Regions from separate parts of the Homo sapiens genome. Here region 2 is linked to region 1. The links are contacts of gene promoters, found by promoter capture Hi-C in blood cells and fetal thymus (Javierre and others, 2016). All regions are on one chromosome and are shown on one strand. Each heading gives the region's core, a stretch centred on a gene start or on the middle of the fragment in contact. The rest is flanking DNA. Distances are from core to core; before and after follow the strand shown. Region 1 holds the start of KNDC1 (kinase non-catalytic C-lobe domain containing 1). Region 2 overlaps CFAP46 (cilia and flagella associated protein 46).

Evidence for each region. The method cuts DNA at HindIII sites, captures the fragments that hold promoters and counts their contacts. A CHiCAGO score of 5 or more calls a contact.
Region 2: a contact is called between a fragment that was not itself captured here and the fragment with the promoter of KNDC1 in region 1, in 2 of 17 cell types (M1 macrophages and M0 macrophages). The highest score is 5.5, in M1 macrophages.

Annotation. Positions count from the first base shown.
Region 1 is chr10:133,158,158-133,161,591 of GRCh38, forward strand. It overlaps KNDC1 (kinase non-catalytic C-lobe domain containing 1), which reads left to right and starts at 2,062. Exons shown (of 30, transcript NM_152643.8): 1 at 2,062-2,412. The coding sequence starts at 2,311. RefSeq lists enhancers at 2,433-3,022, 3,023-3,434. The HindIII fragment of the contact is 2,500 bases long and covers 1,052-3,434 here.
Region 2 is chr10:132,926,208-132,929,628 of GRCh38, forward strand. CFAP46 (cilia and flagella associated protein 46) reads right to left here. Exons shown (of 58, transcript NM_001200049.3): 10 at 361-459. Among named protein-coding and RNA genes, the nearest start is that of CFAP46, 15 kb to the right of the region's middle. The HindIII fragment of the contact is 2,219 bases long and covers 446-2,664 here.

The DNA.
Region 1 (3,434 bases), core at 812-3,311:
CACATGCTGGGCACACAGGGCTGGCACCGAGAGGCAGGAGGGCTTGATGAGGAGGCCGTTCCTTGTGGCTCACGGAGGGCTCTTGGCCGTTTCCGCGTGGCACCCAGAAGCTGCTCACCAGCTCTAGAAGACGTGGGGCGATGAATCCAGACCCTGGAGGAACTGCGCCCTCGTCCAGCATAACTGAGGTGCCAGGACACAGGACCGACATCGCACCCTCCACTTGGGTCAAAGCTTTATCACTGCAGGCGAGTGTGCGGGCGCCCGGGACAACTCGCAAAACGTCTGGAAGTTCCCACCACTCCCCAGAACAACAGAGACCAAAGCCCACAAATCTTTAAAGGAAAGCAGCAGGTGCGTAAAAGAAAGAGCCTGCGGCCCCTGCCCGAGGCCCCTCCCCACGTGCCCAGCCCTGAGCAGCAGCAGCGCTGAGTGACCCAGGTGTGGGAAATGCCTGCTGAGGGGTTTTAGGCCGCAACAGCCGAAGCTGACACGGCCGACTCCAGGAGCCTGTGAGTTCTGCATTTTACCAACCGCATGCACGTCTTTCCAGGAGTGCTTGCCCTATGGCTGCCCCCCAAATTATGGGGTTACCTTTGCCCCCTATTCAGTGTCTATATCCTCACCCCAAGCCCGTGAGGTGACCTGGGCACTCGGTGACAAAGTCCTGTGCTTGTGGGGTCCCTGGTGCCTTCCCTTTGGGGTCACGTCAGCCCGGCGTTCCCCCGGAGGCACAAGTCTGGGTGGCAGCTGAGAGGCGTCAGGGGCACATCCAGACCTGACAAAGGAGGCGGCCCCAGCCCTGCAGCAGAGGGCCCAGGAGCCCAGGGGCTCAGCTCCAATGTCCAGGTCTGAGCACCAGGGTGCAGCGGGATCAGGCTCCTGGAGCAGAGTCTGCCTGCCACTTCCGCCTCCTTCCAAGACAGGGACTGGGGCGCTGCAGGCCCTGTGGGGCCCACAGAGAGAGAGCTCAGGGACAGCTGGCTGAGGCCACCCTCTGTGAGACTCCTCCTCTCCAGCTCCAGCCCACTCCACCTTGGCTTGCTGCCCAAGCTTCCAAACACCCAAGGATGGGGGAGGCTGCACCTGACTGCTGACTCGGTGGACCAGGGTGGGCCCCAGGGTGGGCATTTTCAATAAGGTGGGGCTGCCTGGCTGGACGCAGGGAGTCTGCCCAGCACCTGCCCCACTCCCAGCCTCCGGCTTCAGTGCCCACCTGGCTCCCGGGGAGCTGAGCCCCTGAACTCCCTGCCAGGCCAGAGTGACAGCCCGGGTGACCGACCAGGGGACAGAGTGCTGGGAATTCACGTCCCTGAACACACTGCACCCTCCCACTCTGCGGTCAAAAGCCCTGCTGCTCCTTCAAGCCAGGAGCATGGATTAAGTACCTACTGTGTGCCTGGCCAGCCACACGGACGGGGAGCTGACAGCCGGGCCCTGAAGCCGCCCTCTCTCCTGTGGGAGTTCTGGGGGTGGCCGGGGAAGGTGAGATTCTCCTCCACCCTCCCTGCCTCTTGGCCGAGCTTGGGGCTATCCTGGCTCTTCTGACCGCGGCACTACCGTGGGCCGGGGTCACCCTGGCGCTGAAGAAAGCCCCGGGGGGCCTTTGGGGCAGGAAGAGGTCAAGAGCCCCAGGACCCCCCAGGGTCCCCCAGGACCGGGGAGGGTCGGGTGCCCAGTGGGTCTCTCCGATGCCTCCAGGTGGGGATGAGGCAGCGTTATTGCCCCACCCCCAACATCCCCGGGCCTCCGAAAGACCCTCGCTCAGGAGAGACCCCGGCCCAGCGACCGCCCCGCCCCCCACCCCGGGCCCCGCCCCCCACCCCGGGCCCCGCCCGGCCCTGCCCAACGCCGCTGCAGAGGCCACCCCGGGACTGCGGCAGCCCCGCCCGGCAGCAGCGGGGGTGGGACGGGGGCGGCGGGAGCCGGCGAGGGGGTCTGCCCGTCCGAGCTTTCCTGGGCGCCGGCTCCGCCCCTCGACCCTTGGGGCCCAGGTGGGGCGCAGACCCCGTGGCTCCCCGCGGAGGCCACACGCCTGGCTCCGCCCCCGGTGCCTCCCCCAGGAAGGAGCGACGTTCCCTAGGCGCCGGGTCCGGACAGCGCCGCGCAGCCCCCGCGCACCCCGCGCCCCCCGCGCCCCCCGGGCCCGCCCCGTATCCCTGACCGCGTCCCCTGGAGACACTGCGGCAGCGGCGGGCGGGCGGGGGCGGGCGAGGGCCGGGCGCGTCTCCATGGAGCCAGGGCGCGCGTAGCCGAGCCCAGCCCAGCCCAGCCGGAGGCCCCGGGGGCGGTGCGCGGCGCGGCCGCAGGATGCAGGCCATGGACCCGGCCGCGGCGGATCTTTACGAGGAGGACGGCAAAGACCTGGACTTCTACGACTTCGAGCCGCTGCCCACCCTCCCCGAGGACGAGGTGAGCCCCCGGCCCCACTGGGGGGCCCCTTCCGCCGCCGAGGGGTCCGCGGAGAGCGCCCGGGGGGAGGACCCGGGAGGGGCTGTGAGCTCCCGCCTCCCCAGGCGCCCTCCATGGCCGAGGGGTTCCCACCGCCGTTCTCAGCCCCCGCGTTAGGATTTTCACCCGGAGGGGACAGCACCCCCGAATGCGCACGGGACGGCGGCGGGTGGGCAGCCCCTGCAGAAGTTGGTGCGCGGTAGCTCCTGGTGGAAACCCTGGCGGGACAGTGTGGGGGCAGCAAGGAGGACGGAGGGGGGTCTGCTTACTCCCTGCCGGGCCCCAGGAGGCCAGCGGGGTGCAGAGCAGCAGAGTCCAATCAGGCGCCGCTCAGGAGCTGGGGGATGAGGTCCCCGGAGCTGAGGTTCAGGAGCGGGGGGTGGGGGGAGCGCTGGATGACTGCCCCCCGAGACTGAGAGCTGCTTCCTGCTCTCTGGTTTTCCGGGCCTTCACCCAAGACCCCCCTACCCCGCAAGGTGCAGAGGGGCTCTGCCTGCCATCTGCATACCCTGGCGCTTCTGCTCATGGACCGCCCACCCTACAGCACCGGCTGCCCAGACGCCACCTTGGCTGGGTCTGACCCTGTAGCTCAGCTCTGGCTTGGCTGGGATGGAGTGGACAAGCCAGGCCCGGAAGCATGAGAGGTGGCCCCCAGGGGATACAGCAGCTCCCAGAGGGACCCTCACCCTCCAGGGATCCGAGATCTGCCAAACCTCCAACAGGCAAGAGCCCAGACGCTGGGCGCCTGCGTCTCCGGGTGACAGCGTCGTCACCTGCAGCCATTAGTGGGATGTTGTGGCGCCCTCTCTTTAAAGCCGGCCAAGTAAGCCTGGAGCAGGGAATCCCGGCTGCAGCAGCCGCGGGCCTGACCCCCTCGCAGTCCCCACCTGCTGCCCCAGGGGAGTGGGCTCTGAAGGGACCGGGAGTTTCTGCTGTGGAAGCACCGTCCTTCTGGGAAGGTTCAGCCCCAGGAGGCCCTCGGC
Region 2 (3,421 bases), core at 305-2,804, 230 kb before region 1:
GCAGAAAGCCCTCATGGGACGCGTGGCCGTCCCCCGTCCTCCCAGGCAGGCATCACCACACGGCGGGGAGGGGGCAGCTCCGTGGGGGCTGCAGGAGGAGGGTCAGAGGGAGTCGCATCCCAGCCCCCACCTGCACGACCCCACCCCACCAGGGCGGCGTGTAGGCCCCTGTGCGCAGGACAGGGAGTGTGGCACTGGAGGCTGGACTCACACCCGCTGTCACGGGAGCCAGGGCGAGTCTAGCAGTGGGGTCCAGGCCATGTCCCCAGCACCCTCAAGCCTGGGACACACTCAACTTGCACCAAGCTCCAGGAATCTGCAAAATAATGCCAGGTGTATGACTCCTGCGTAAGGACTGACCTCAACAGCCGCTCGGTTGTACACTTTCATCTTACTTTCAAGTCTTAAAGCTTCCGATTCACACTCCAGACATTCCATTTCAATAAGCTTCCCAGGATCCTGCAGATATAAACAGTTTTTGAAAAGATGGAGATCTGTAAGGGAAGCAGCTGTGTACATTCATGAAATTCAAAGGCATTTAAAATATTACTGGGTAGAGGTTTAACAAATACAAGTCACACGATGACACAAAGACACCTATGACGCAGAGGTTTAAGTGAGGAAGCCGTGTTTTCAGCTACACCAACTCCTTGTCTGCCTGCGGGCCCCACCACCTGAGAGCGGCACGGGAGGGTCCTGAGTTTGCCCTTTTCAGGGGCCTTGTCCCGGCCCCCAACACCTGGTACCCAGGCCTCAGCCAGGCTGCTTGGCGGCCCGGGGCTGCGCTGAAGTCTGGGAAGCAATGTGTTGTACGTCACACCGGGAAGAAGGGCACTCTACCTCTCCTTTCTTGGGGGCTTGCTGAGCTCGGGGAAGATGTTCCCAGGCCTCGGTGGCCTTACAAAAGCTGGGGAGCAACGTGTGGCTGTCATCCAAAGACCACTAAACCCACCCCGCTCGAGGGGTGACACCCCTAAACCCGCCCTGGCGTGAGGGGTGCAGGTCTTCTGGACACAGGAGACTCAAGCTCCTAGTCTGTGAGCGCAGGCGCTGATGATGGTGAAGCATCTTCACAACTATCAGACACAGACGTCCCGGGGAGCAGGTCCTCGGCGGCAGACGCCTCCGTCCCGGGGAGCAGGTCCTCGGCGGCAGACGCCTCCGTCCCGGGGAGCAGGTCCTCGGCGGCAGACGCCTCCGTCCCGGGGAGCAGGTCCTCGGCGGCAGACGTCCACAAGCACGGGAAGTACCCGCAGCACCTCGGGATGGCTGCACCGCAGTCCTGCATGTCTGGGCCTCGGTGCCGGCCAGGATGGAGAGCGCAGGAGGCCACCACCCCAGGCTGTGTGCCCCGGCCTGTCCAGCGGCTGCAAGCCTCCATGCCACTAAGGAAGCCATGCCAGGCTTCACAGAGGTCAGAAAAAGCGTTCCGTGCTTCCCACACGTTCACGGATCTTAAAACTCTTTATGTGGTCCCACAAGTCCAGGTGTCTGCCTGGTTAAATCATTTCCACCATTCACTCAGGCAATTGTGAAATGTATTACAGTGGATAGTCTTTAAAAATGCACCAAGGCTTCAAAATTAAAAACTATTCATATCCTTAACATTAGTGAGCTTTTAATTTAAAATAAATCTCGTGAGATCCTGAATGTCTAACAGTAGGCTGGCGGGGATAATGAGCCTCCTGGTAGAATGTTTACCTAGAGAAGGTCGCTTTCGACCAGTGGTCAGGAGGTAACAGGAGGGCTGGGGCCTGAGGGATGGGCAGAGGCCAACCGGGCAAAGGGCCAGGACAGTGTCCTCAAGCCGGGGCAGAGGAACATGCTGTGCAGGGGCCACGGGCGGTGGGGGCAGAGTTGGGCCACAGGAGCCTCCCTAACAGCGACCCCACGTCAGCAGGGGCCCACCCGAGAGCCTCAACCTGGGATACACAAAACATTGCTCTCAGTTCCACAGCAGCCCTTGGAGATGGGTCCTGTTACTGCTGCCATTTTGCAGGGACAAGCCCTGAGGCACAGGGAGCTGAAGGAAGGGCTGCTGGGAAGGAGGAAGTGGGGCCGGACCCAGGCGTTCCATAGTCATTCTGAATTGGGGACACCGTGCCGTGAAAACCCAGAAGATGGAAATGGGGCCCACAGAAGCCGGTAAAGGGCATCAAACACAGGAGCCTCCCACGCTGCTCCCATCCTCCGTGCGGCATGGGCTGCTGTTTCCAGCCTTGACCACGCTTCCCACCTGCACCCTGGTGGGCGGTCCCTCCAAGGGCTGCCTGGCTGTCAAGGCCACGTGAACTGCATCTCCTATTCTGAAACCATTTCCAGATCAGCACAGCCCTCAGCGTGACTGGACGGCTCCCCCCGTGCTGAGCCATGGCCGTGTCTCCTGCGCCACTGATGGTTGGTTTACGTTCACTCTTAGGTAACCTGGGCAAAGCACACAGCAAGTGCTCAATGAAGACAGCACACAGGGAGGCCCCAGCATGTGGCTGTGCATCCGAGGGTCCCCCTTCTTCACTCTCTGTGTGTAAAGCGACACTCAGTTTGCTCAAAACCATCCCTGATAAACTGATCACATTTTCCCTGCTCTGTGGAAGAGCCTGTCACAGTTCCTGAAAGCATCGGCAAACCTGATGTATGCAGTCTTACACACTTGTCGTTGTGTGAAGCTTCTTCTGGAGGGCAATACTCTAACGTGTATTCTTAAAATATTAAAAGTGAAAATTCCCTAGTCATTTCATGTAAATATACTCATCTTAGGGAAAAATCCTAAACGCAGAAAAATGTTTTAGGCACAAAATGTTCACTGCAGCCCTTTATGTAATAAGCAAAAAATTATACGGTAGCCCCCCCTTCTCTGAGAGGATACGTTTCAAGACCCCCCAACCCAGTGGAGGCCTGAAACGTGGAGTAGTCCGAAACCCGATTATACTGTGATTTTTCTAGACGGAAATCCCTACGATAAACTTCAATTTCTAAATTAGGCACAATAAGATATTTATAACAATAACTAATAATAAGATACAATCATAACACTATACTGTAACAGAAGTGATGTGGCTGTGGCCTCTCCCTCAGAATAGCTTAATATTTTCATACTGTAGCTGTCTGCAGGTAACAAACTGCAGAAAGTGAACTGCGGGTAACGAGGCACTGCCGGTGTGATTTACACGTCCAATAATGGGACTGGTGGAGGATGTTCTGGATCATCAGCATCATGAAATTTTACGCCGTCCGTAAATTGGACTCTAGAAACAACTGTGGTGCTGTGGACCCGTGGCCACAAGAAAGGTAAAGAGAAACGGGCAGGTGTAAAATTGCAAACACCATCTAACTGCAACTGTGCAAAACACAGGTAGGAAAGACGGCAATGTGCCAACCACGGACCGAAGCCCTGGGGGCCGTGGCCTGGTGAACTGCTCTT